Regions from separate parts of the Homo sapiens genome. Here all the other regions are linked to region 2. The links are contacts of gene promoters, found by promoter capture Hi-C in blood cells and fetal thymus (Javierre and others, 2016). All regions are on one chromosome and are shown on one strand. The core of a region is centred on a gene start or on the middle of the fragment in contact, and the rest is flanking DNA. Distances in the headings are between cores, read along the strand shown. Region 1 holds the start of SSR1 (signal sequence receptor subunit 1). Region 2 holds the start of EEF1E1 (eukaryotic translation elongation factor 1 epsilon 1). Region 3 overlaps SSR1 (signal sequence receptor subunit 1).

Region 1 (3,934 bases), core at 185-2,684, 790 kb after region 2:
TTCTTCCTGGCGGGTTCGTGATTTCCCTAGCTTCAGGAGCGAAGCTGCAGACCTTCATAATGAGTGTTATAACTCATAAAGGCAATATGAGCTTAAAGAGCAAAAGAACAGATATTTTCCCAGCATGGAAAGAAACTGGAGCCTGTTGTCGCTGCTAAGCTCAGGGCAGCCTGCTTTTATTCTTATCTGGCCCCACCCACACCCTGCTGATTGGTAGAGCCGAGTGGCCTGTTTTGACTGGGCACTGATTGGTGCGTTTACAATCCCTGAGCTAGACACAAAGGTTCTCCACGTCCCCACTAGATTAGCTAGATACAGAGCGTGGACGCAAAGGTTCTCCAAGGTCCCACCAGAGTAGCTAGATACAAAGTGTCGATTGGTGCATTCACAAAGCCTGAGCTAGACACAGGGTGCTGATTGGTGTGTTTACAATCCCTGAGCTAGACATAAAGGTTCTCCACGTCTCCACCAGACTCAGAAGCCCAGCTGGCTTCACCCCGTGGAACCCGTACTGGGGCTGCAGGTGGAGCTGTCTGCCAGTCCCATGCCTGTGCACCTGTACTGATCAGCCCTTGGGTGGTGGAAGGAACTGGGCACCGTGCAGCAGGGGGTGGCGCTGGTCGGGGAGATTCCGGCTGCACAGAAGCCCATGGGGTTGGGGGAGGCTCAGACATGGTGGGCTGCAGGTCCCGAGCCCTGCCCCGCGGGAAGGCAGCTAAGGCCCGGTGAGAAATCGAGCACAGCAGCTGCTGGCCCAGGTTCTAAGCCCCTCACTGCCCCCCGCCTGGCCCAGTTGGCCGCTCCCACTGCAGGGCCCGCCAAGCCCACGCCCACCCGGAACTCGCACTGGCTGGCAAGCACCGCGCGTAACCCCAGTTCCCGCCCGCCCACGCCTCTCTCCACACCTTCCCGGCAAGCTGAGGGAGCTGGCTCCGGCCTTGGCCAGCCCAGAAAGGGGCTCCCACAGTGCAGCGGTGGGCTGAAGAGCTCCTCAAGTGCCACCAAAGTGGGGGCCCAGGCAGAGGAGGCGCCGAGAGCGAGCGAGGGCTGAGTACTGCCAGCATGCTGTCACCTCTCAGAAGCTTTGTTTTTTGCAATAAATCTTGCTGCTGCTCACTGCCTTTATGAGCTGTAACACTCACCGCGAAGGTCTGCAGCTTCACTCCTAAAGCCACCGAGACTATGAACCCACCAGGAGGAATGGACACCTTAACAGCTGTAACACTCACTGCGATGGTCTAGTAGCTTCACTCCTGAGCCAGTGAGACCATGAACCCACCAGAAGGAAGAAACTCGGAACACATCCGAACATGATGAAGGAACAAACTCTGGACTTTAAGAACTGTAACACTCAGCACGAGGGTCTGCGGTTTCAGTCTTAAAGTCAGTGAGACCAAGAACCCTATTCCAGACACAGCTCTGACATAGAGTGGCAACACTGGTAGCGTGCACAGGAGCAGAGGCAGCAGCAAAGTGAGAGGAGGCCCTCCACTTATGCTGGGCGCCCTAGTAGCAGCAGCAACACAGCAGCGGTGCCACTGGTGGCCTGGCAGAGTGGAATTTGGTTGATTCAGCCCAGCACCATCAGGCTGTGACTTTAGCAGACTGTAGGTAGTGGTGGCAGTGGGTCCAAGCTGCATTTACAGCCCCCAGGACAAGGAGACCTGAAGCGGAAACAATGCAGGAGTAGAACAGCAAATGTCCTAGGTCAGTAGTGTATGGAATCTGGAACCAGATAGCCTTGTTCAAATCTTGCATCTGCCGTTTGCTAGCGTTTTGAAGCTTTGAGTAAATTACTAACCTCTCTGGGTCTGTTTTCTCCTCAGTAAATAATATCCAGCTCATAGAGAGGTTTAGAAAATTAAATGAAAAAGCACAGCTCTAAGGAGGTGATTGACAATAGTAAGCATATGATTTATTTCCTCATCTTTATGACATCTCACTCTGGTCCAGACCAAGATTACTTAATATTCAGATTAATTTCATGAACTGCTATATTACTCCAGCAACTCAAATCCAAAATAGATGAAAAGGAAACTAAAGAAAACTGGACAGCCATTGCTGCACCTATTGTATAGTTACAAATGCTGACTACATACCAAAACACTGTTTAGGTGACTTATAATTCTGGAATGTCACATACGAATTTAAGAATTGCTGGCCAGGCGCAGTGGCTCACACCTGTAATCCCAGCACTTTGAGAGACCCAGGCGGGTGGATCACCTGAGGTCAGGAGTTTGAGATTAGTCTGGCCAACATGGTGAAACCCCCGTCTCCAGTAAAAATACAAAAATTAGCCGGGCGTAGTGGTGCGCGCCTGTAGTCCCAGCTGCTTAGGAGGCTGAGGCGGGAGAATCGCTTGAACCCGGGAGGCGGAGGTTGCGGTGAACAGAGATGGTGCCACTGAACTCTGGCCTGGGCGACAGAGCAAGACTTCGTCTCAAAAATAATAATTTAAGAATTGTCATTACTTAACCATGGGAGAGGGTGTGGGCAGACAGGGGACAAAGATTTTCCACTGTGTATTTTCATGGTTTTTCCTTTGAACAATGTCCTCTCTTCCAACAAAATTTTTTGCTTTTAAGTGCCACATAAAGGCAGCTCATGTTCCTTACATCGCCGTTATCAAGAGGATCGTCATTCAAATAAAGTAACCACTGACAATGCTAATTAATTGGAAGTAAAGAACTGGGCGGAAAGAACGGCTAACCGCAAGCTGCCGGGTCGCAACTGCGGCGGAAGGCGGACTCTCGCGGGAGCCACAAAGAGGCAGCAGCCGGCCACGTGACTTCCCGGTGGCCTGCTCTCCCCACCTCTCCGCGCTGAGCAGCCACGTCGGCGGCGGTCCCTGGTCCAGGGAGGGGCGTGGCAAAGGCCCGTGCGCGGTACGTGTCCCGCCCCTCGCTGCCCGGAGCCCGGATGAAGAGTAACGCCATTACCGCCGGAGCCGCCGAGAGCCTTAGCCGACGGAAACTGGACACTGGACCGGCAGCGCCATGAGACTCCTCCCCCGCTTGCTGCTGCTTCTCTTACTCGTGTTCCCTGCCACTGTCTTGTTCCGAGGCGGCCCCAGAGGTGAGGCTGGGGGAGTGTGCGGAGGGGATGGCCAGGAAGGAGATGCCAGTGATGGCAAGTTTGAAGTTGGAGGCGGTGGCCGCTCCGGGTCCTGGGGTCCGCGTCCACCCCGCTGGCCTCTCTCCGCCCTCTCCCCAAGCCTAGGCTCGTAGCAGCAGGGGTCCCCGCGGGCGCTGGAGACCCCGCTGCGGCCTGCCCCTTGCACGCGGAGCGCGGGGCCGTGCCCGGGCGACCTTGCTTCGTGGCCGGCCGAGGGCTGGGCTTGCTCCTCTTGCCCTGGACCCTCGCCTGCAGGAGCGGCCAGAACTGGAGGGTCCTCGGCTGCAGGAGGAGGCGCTGGACACGGCTGCGCTCCGAGCGCGCCGCAGCCGGGCTGTTTCTTTTGGCCACCTCCGGCTCCGCTCCACCCCCAGCCCCTCGCGCTCAGGGCTGACGTGTCTTTAGCTTCCACGCCGGGAGTCCGTCTTCATTCATTTGCCAAAACCCTTGTTTTCTACACATCTAAGCCATCAGAGTGTCTTGTTCAATGGTCATCTGCCTTGTTCACGCCCTGCTTGACCCGTATGTGTTACTAGGAGGCTTGATTTCAGAAAAACTACCCCATCGTCACCCCCGTTATCCGCCCCTGCTGCCAAGCAGACTGAAGAATCCCTGTGGGATGTCTCCCTTCTGCCTTCTTCCTCTTCTTGTCTTTCCATGGAACAATTTTTTGTTTGTGGAAACATCGTATTGTGCTGAAAAAATGTGGCCTACTTCGAGTGTTTTTAATACATAGATTTATTCTTTCAACAATTAACCCAGCAATTAAGTGTGAAAATAACTTAGCAGAATATAAAAATATGGCAACTTGACTTCCTGC
Region 2 (3,852 bases), core at 164-2,663:
AGTCACTTAAAAGAGGTCCACACTGGGTGATGATGTCATCAATTTGATGTACAATATGCTTTGTTCTGCTTTCAGTTTTTTAGGGATTTCTTTTTTAATTTGATATTTCTATAATTATGCAAAGGCCAAACCTTATTTTCAATATACCACCCATTGGCATTGGATAAATGTTAATTTTTTTAAAAAATGTTTTATTACAAGCAAAAAGTGTACCTAAACCCTGAAAATGGATATGTGAATTATCTTAGAGGGTTGGTCTTTTAAAAAGTAGTAGAATAGTCATTCCATTATCTGAATATGGAAAGTAAAACAGATAATTTAGTGCCTAACAATCCACTTATACTGAAATTTCTTTTGTATTTTGTTATGTTGATTTGGCAAAAGTTTCTTTTCCTTATGTTTACTTCTGCTGACAGAGTAAACTCATTAAGTATTCTGGGATAGGGAAGGTGTAACACAGTAACAACATTCCCCACTAAACTTTGATATTTCTGATTCAATGATGAGTTACCTTGTAGGATTGTTCTATTTCTCTCAGACTAATACACACTTTGTTTATTCATTCTTCAAAGTGGAAAATATTTTGTATTTTCACAAATCTTTTGGAAATATTCAACATATACTACTAATTTTCTTTCTTTCTTCCTTTCTTTCTTTTTTGAAGATACAAGAATGTAGCAAGTTAGTGGGGCAAAGTTATGCACCTTGTTTATTTATATACCAAAACTTCATAAATTATGTAACCAGCCTTCTGGTACTGCAAAAAAAGATCATTAATGCCATTAATGGCTTATTTCCTTGAGCTGTAATTATTTGACCCCTATCTGACATACTCCGTGTTCTGTGAATAATCTTTAAATGTATAATTCTACTGCTAGTGTTGAGCTGTAGATCAACAGTAGAAAAACCAGTTTTTCGAATTCACCACTACAACACAATTAAAATCCTCATGAATTATGCTACACGTTAGAAACTCCTAATGGACTGTGAACTTTTTGCTATTCAATTTGATTGTTCAAATTTACAGATTCCTGAACCAAACTAAGGCAAATTTCAGTTCCCATCATATATAAATTCTCTTAGACTAGCAAATGAGTTAACGAGTTACCGCTGGCAGCCATGTCAATAGATTGCCATTTAGAGATCCAGATCCAGTCTACTGCAGCCACCGAAGCCCGGCCTTGGGGCCTTTCTACCAGTAACTAGCTCCCCAACAGTTCGAGTGGAAATTTACCATCACTTCTCCACCTGTCTCACACCCCGCCCTCAGCCCCGCCCCTTCCACCGGCCCCGCCTCCTGTGCTTTGGCGCGCGCTCTCCACGCCCCTTCCGTTCAGCCAATCGCCGCTGAAGTTTGCAGGAGTGGGACTTCTGTTTCCACCAATGCGGGAGGTTCTTGTTCTGCAGGTCTCGCGTCTGCCAGGAGCTACGGCCGGAAGATGGCGGCGGCCGCAGAGTTGTCGCTACTGGAGAAGTCCCTGGGACTGAGTAAGGGGAATAAATACAGTGCTCAGGGCGAGCGACAGGTGAGAAGGAGAGGCGGCGCGGAGGGGAAGAGGTGGACGGGAGCGGGGCCTGCCGAGCCCTGGCAGGACCCGGGCCGGCCACCAGATACGGGCGGAGTGAGGATGCTGCTACCCAGCTCCCCACGTGTCTGCGCCGCTAGCCGGCTGGCGCCTCTGGGCCTCGGCCCCTGCCATCCTACCTCCTGGAGGGAGGGGTTAACCAGCTCAGGTTGGGCTTGGCCTGAACTTCACCTCCTGGGAAATTGTCATCATCCCATTATGAGGAAACAAAACCAGTTGGAGGAGGGTCCTCACAGGGCTCTTAGACCAACCTGGAATGTATTCAGTAACTGGCTTTTTTTTTTTTCCCGTAATCGCACCTTTCATTCAGTTATTGCGCAGCGACTCCGTTATAGCTAACAGGGTGCCAGGTAGCACCGTGCTGGGTCTGGGGAATACAATGATGATTTAGGGGAACATGCTTCCTCCTCTCAGGCAGCTTGCTTTTTGGCCAGGTGGACAAACATTGCAACCATTTAAATTGGAAGAGTGCCACGTTGCACCATAAATGGCAGAGAGAACACCTAAGGAGTCTTGGCCCAATCTAGGGGATTCGGGGAAGGCGTTTCTAAAGCCTTGGATTATCAGTTTAAGTGTTACGACCCACAGTGAATGCGGGAAACATCACAAGGTATGAGATTGCCTGGTTAGGCACTGTTAGAACGTTTGTGTTTTATAGTTGTTTGTCGTAGAAGGAATGTATTAGAGAAGGAAATTGGTTGTAGGAAGACTACTTTGGATATATGTTTTTTTTGCTCCTTTGAGATTTTTTCCAAATGATGTTTGGTTTTTGTCTTTAATTTTTTCTCTTCTTCATTTGGTCCATGTGAAGATCTTGTCTAGAAAGTAGTAGTATAGTTTTTATTTAAGTTAACCTGAAGCCTAGAAAGGTTAAGTGTTCAGCCTAAGATCAGCCCTGTGATTGGTGGCAGAGTAGGCGTTGGAGCCAAAGTGGCCTTCTTTTGGTGTTTCCTCTGCCCCAGTGATAATTCCGTCCCTTCGGCCCCTACTCCCTAGCTTAGTGTATATATTATATAATATATATGTAGTATAAATATAATATATATGGCCGAGTGGACAAACATTGCAACCGTTTAAATTGGAAGAGTGCCATATATATATATATATATATATATATATATATATATATATTTTTTTTTTTTTTTTTTTGAGACAAAGTCTCACTGTGTCGCCCAGGCTGTAGTGCCATGGCATGATCTCGGATCACTGCAACCTCTGCCTCCCGGGTTCAAGCGATTCTTCTGCTTCAGCCTCCCAAGTAGCTGGGGTTACAGGTGTTCGCCACCACGCTCAGCTAATTTTTGTATTTTTAGTAGAGACCGGGTTGCACCATGTTGGCCAGGCTGGTCTTGAACTGGTGACCTCAGGTGATCCACATGCCCTGGCCTCCTAAAGTGCTGGGATTACAGGCGTGAACCACTGTGCCTGGCCTAGTTTATATTTTTTAGGGACCATTGCCAAGATATGAGTATTATCTAGTATGAGAAACAATCATCAGCAAATAATTTAAAGCACAACATAGTAAGCACTTCATGGACTGTCGTGGGTGAGCAGCAACTCTCTGGGGCTGGTGGCGCCAGGGTAAGAATTTACCAGGACAGCTGTACGTAAAGAAAAGCAGATTTATTAGAGAAAGTATGAAAATATGTTGCAAGAGTGCAACAGGCAAGTTAGTAAGAGAGGAGCTAACTGCAAGGAAACAAAGGCTGGCTGGGGATTTTACGGAATAGTACTTCAGTTGTGTGCTGAAGAGGGGTTTGTGCAGTACTGATAACACCAAGGTTGCAGTGAGCTAACTTGAGTTTTCTATCAGCCGAAGGTCCGGTGATAGCTGGACATGGAAAGATTGTTGAGTTATTTGTGCAGAAGGGCTGTGTCCTGGACCATGAAGAAAGGCAGACTTGTAGCTTATCGCCCTTCTCTTTTTGCTTTCCCTTGGTCCCCTCAACCTGACTTCTTTTCCCTAATTAGGACTCCATATGGAGCAAAACACTGTTGAGGAGTGTGAAAAAGGAAGTTAATTCTGACTATAAAAGTGGATGTATAAACTCATGGAAGAGCTGGCATTTAAGGGATTATGCTTTGAAAGATGTGTAAAACCAATAAATTATGAAGGATTGGGAAGTTTAGGGCAGTAAGTAAACCAATATGAGGAATGATGCAATGCAAGGTAAACCCCAAATTACAGTTTGAGGCCCAACTGTGAAGACTTCCGAGTTCAGAGTGTGGTTTTTAATTTAATTTTAATTAAAGCATTTTAGCAGTT
Region 3 (3,932 bases), core at 1-2,500, 820 kb after region 2:
TAGCTTGGATTACAGGCGCCCGTCACCGCACCTGCCTAATTTTTGCATTTTTAGTAGAGACGGGGTTTCGTCATTTGGCCAGGCTGGTCTTGAACTCCTGACCACAGGTGATACGCCTGCCTTGGCCTCCCAAAGTGTGCTGGGATTACAGGCGTGAGCCACTGTGCCCGGCCCACTGTTCACTTTTTGAATGGCATCATTTTATAGCTGTAGAACTAAAATCAATGTTTGCCCCAATTTTCTTAAGTAAAACTCTACTTTGAGCTCTTACCTCCAACTTAGTAAAAAGCAGCTTCACACACAAACAAGATTCTTACTGGTGGAATGTTAGGTTTCGTTGTTAAGTTAATCTGTCTATAAGCTCATCCTTAGAGGATATTTGAGGAGGAAGAACACCTTGCAGCTGACTTGCAAACATCTAAATAATTTATTTCGGGTGCTTATGAATGTTACTAATGGATTTTGTATGAATTTTTATCCCTTTTCATTTATACAAAAACCTGGGCTTTTATGTTAATTATATCATCTGAGGTTCTAAGGTTTTTTTTTTAGATTTTGAAATTTAGGGATAATAGCTCTTAGGTTTGGGTACCACTTTGCTGCAGTTTAAGAAAGGGGGAAGGGAACTCATTTATTAAACATCAATCACGTGCTGTGTTCTGTTTGTTTTCTAGTCATCATATCACACACCTTTACGACAGCTCACTGAAGGAAGGTGATACTGTTCCCATTTTGTAGATGGAATAGACAAAACCTGAATTTAAGTAGCTTGCTCAAGGTTCCATATTGAATATGGAAAGTTCAAATCATCTCAGTAATGAATATACCATATATACTTGCTGTATTGTATCTATGATAATTCAGTTACCCACAATACCCTTTTAAATTTCTGTTAATGACATACCTTTAAATGTCTCCTTGATGAACAGAATCATGGTCTTTAAAAACATTTTCATGGGTTGATTGCATTTTCAAGCTCTAAAGGATTGAAAGATAAATCTTCACGTTAAAGGTAAGAGTGAAGTATCTGCTCTTGGGTTACAGAACCAGATAGTACTAGAACTAAGATTACAGGGTAAAGCTGCTTTTATCTTTTTTCTTTTTCTTTTTCTTTTTTTTTTTGACATGGGGTCTCACTGTATTGCCCAGGCTGGAATGCAGTGGCATGATCTCAGCTCACGGCAGCCTCTGCCTCTTGGGCTCAAGCGATTCTCCTGCTTCAGCTTTCCAAGTATTTGGGACCACAGGCGCACACCACAGGCCTGGCTAATGTTTTTGTTTTGTTTTTGGTAGAGACGGGGTTTCACCATGTTGCCAGGCTGGTCTCGAACTCCTGAGCTCAAGTGATTCACCCACCTTGGCCTCACAAAGTGTCAGGCTTACAGGCGTGAGCCACTGCGCCCGGCTCACAGGGTAAGGCTTCTGTCTGGTGTGTTGTATTACGGATTTTGCTTAATAGGCACAGTGAGGCATTAAAAAGAAAATTCAGTATGCCTGTAGAAAGGATAATCCTTGTTTAAAGTCTCCAAATTGCAGTCAAAGATGTTTTGACTGTGCCTTTTTTTGTTCCCCTGCTGTCCCTTATGTAGACTTCTGTCAGTACCCATGGCAGCCTGTCATCTTGTTGACATCTCCTTCTGGACTGTGAGCTCTGTATCTGGCTTGTTTTTCATCCCCAGCTTCTAGTTCACAATTAGGTAGAACCCTATTACTCTTTGAAGAAGGAACAAGAAAATGTGGGCCAGTTTTCATTTGCCATTCTTCCATGTGAGTTAGTATGGTTCGTAAGTATTCCTGGTGATACGCTAGTATTGGCAATTCTGTGAGGTTGAACAAAGGGGTGGTATGGTGTGCTAGCGTGGGAATTAGGAGACCTCTGGGTCTTGACAGTGCCCTGGCCACTAAGCAAAGGCAGTTCATCCTTGGAGTCTCAATGTGCTTTTTTGTTAATTGAGATATGCTTGAAGTATCAGCCCTAAATAGTCTGATTCTGTGACCTACAAACCCTTACTTAATTCAGTGTTACTATAAATGATTCTTCCCTTAAACCTACTTTTTACTTAGCAAAAGAGAAAAAAAAAAAAAGGAAACGCTCATGTCAGGCTGCCTGGGTTTGAACCCCAGATCCCCTCTTAGTTGGAGGCAAGTTGTATGATGCTTCAGCTTTTGGTTCCTGCCTCCTAAGGTTGTTAGGAGTTACTGTGTGTAGCTGCTTAGAACATTGCCTGGGTCTCAGTAAGCCGCTTAAGTGACTGCTCTCATTTTCGCTGTAAAGCACCATACTGTAATAACATCCCATGAAGCATGGGGCGGGGAAGAGTATATGGTACCTTATGGACTTTGATGTGGTGGGGTAGTAGGTAAATTCTGAATATGTAAGCTACATAGTATTCTTTTTGTAACTAAAGGATAAAAGTTTTAAGATGGGCATGTAATATGGCTAGCACTGGATTTTAATGATGAGCCAGAGTAATAAGGCTGGCAAGGGGAGTTTTTGTTTTGTAATAAATCTCTTACACCTGCACATCCAGTTCTTTTTAAAAACACGTTTGAAGAGGCTCCATATTTCTCAGTGAAGCTGTTGGGGTTCATGTTATTTTTGAAAATCATCTTGCAATTTATTTCAGCATCAGACTGAACCACCCAAAGAAAATTAGTCTATTTCTGAACAGTTTTTTCAGAAACCATATTGGTCTGATCACCCAACATTTATAGAAATAGGCGCTTAAGGCCTAGAGGCATTTCAGAAAGGAGAATGAGAAATACTGTGGTCAAGAGTAGTGTTCAGATGGAGAACATCAAGCATCTGCTCTGCCCTTCCACACACATCCTCATTTCATCTTCACAACTGCCCTAGGTAACCTTGTTATCTGTAATGAAACAGCCTCAAGGAGCACAGAGGCACTCACTCCTCACGTTTGGTCTGTTGCCATTTCCGGCTTGGTTGGAATAGGGTAGGAGCCTTTTGGCAGGGAGCACATTCTCAGTAATGCAGAGTGCACTCACCTGGGTTCTAGCTTCAACACTTAGGATTTGCTTGATATTTTGTATTCTCTGAGGCACTGCCTGTATTTGTTTCTGCTATCACAGTCCAGAGTCAAGCTTCATTTATAAAGACTGGGCAGGGCATGGTGGCTCACTCCTGTAATTCCAGCACTTTGGGAGGCTGAGGTGGGTGGATCACTTTAGGTCAGGAGTTCAAGACCAGCCTGGCCAACATGGTGAAACCCCATCTCTACTAAAAAATACAAAAAGGCCGGGCACGGTGGCTCACACCTGTAATCCCAACACTTTGGGAGGCCAAGGTGGGCAGAACACCTGAGGTCAGGAGTTCAAGACCATCCTGGCGAACATAGTGAAACCTCGCCTCTACTAAAAATACAAAAATTAGCCAGGTGTGGTGGTGCATGCCTGTAATCCCAGCTACTTGGGAGGCTGAGGCAGGAGAATTGCTTAAACCTGGGAGGTGGAGATTGTGGTGAGCTGAGATCGTGCCACTGCACTCCAGCCTGGGAGATAGAACGAGACTCCATCTCAAAAAAGAACAAAAACAATTAGCCGAGCGAGGTGGTGCACGCCTGTAATCCCAGCTACTCATGAGGCTGAGGCAGGAGAATCACTTGAACCCAGGAGGAGGAGGTTGTAGTGAGTCAAGGTTGCACCACTGCACTCCAGCCTGGGTGACAGAGTGAGACTGTCTCAAAAAATAAGTACATAAATAATAAGTAAAAGCTACTAACAATTAAAAAATAAATAAATAAAGACAAGACTGTCTGGAAAATGGCTCTCCTAAAAGGACCAGTTGCCATCATCCACAGTGGAAGATTCAAAGCAGTTGGTCCTTGGTACGTATGAGAAGCGGATTTCATTCCCTTGAATTCTACAGAGCAGTTTATTAGAGTGAATGCATTTTAAGGCCTTGCATTTGATAT

The links. The method cuts DNA at HindIII sites, captures the fragments that hold promoters and counts their contacts. A CHiCAGO score of 5 or more calls a contact.
Region 1: a fragment that was not itself captured here is called in contact with the fragment with the promoter of EEF1E1 in region 2 in 1 of 17 cell types (total CD8 T cells); the score reaches 5.8 in total CD8 T cells.
Region 3: a contact is called between a fragment that was not itself captured here and the fragment with the promoter of EEF1E1 in region 2, in 1 of 17 cell types (naive CD8 T cells). The highest score is 5.1, in naive CD8 T cells.

Annotation. Positions count from the first base shown.
Region 1 is chr6:7,312,183-7,316,116 of GRCh38, reverse strand. It overlaps SSR1 (signal sequence receptor subunit 1), which reads left to right and starts at 2,918. Exons shown (of 8, transcript NM_003144.5): 1 at 2,918-3,075. The coding sequence starts at 2,997. RefSeq lists enhancers at 2,543-2,602, 2,613-2,682, 2,019-2,885, 2,886-3,754 and silencers at 3,173-3,282, 3,413-3,462. The HindIII fragment of the contact is 700 bases long and covers 1,085-1,784 here.
Region 2 is chr6:8,100,109-8,103,960 of GRCh38, reverse strand. It overlaps EEF1E1 (eukaryotic translation elongation factor 1 epsilon 1), which reads left to right and starts at 1,413. Exons shown (of 4, transcript NM_004280.5): 1 at 1,413-1,526. The coding sequence starts at 1,440. EEF1E1-BLOC1S5 (EEF1E1-BLOC1S5 readthrough (NMD candidate)) reads left to right here and starts at 1,366. Exons shown (of 7, transcript NR_037618.1): 1 at 1,366-1,526. RefSeq lists silencers at 1,161-1,360, 1,501-1,620, 1,829-2,014. The HindIII fragment of the contact is 8,997 bases long and covers 1-3,852 here.
Region 3 is chr6:7,282,869-7,286,800 of GRCh38, reverse strand. It overlaps SSR1 (signal sequence receptor subunit 1), which reads left to right. Exons shown (of 8, transcript NM_003144.5): 8 at 1-3,932. Among named protein-coding and RNA genes, the nearest start is that of SSR1, 28 kb to the left of the region's middle. The HindIII fragment of the contact is 3,708 bases long and covers 1-3,104 here.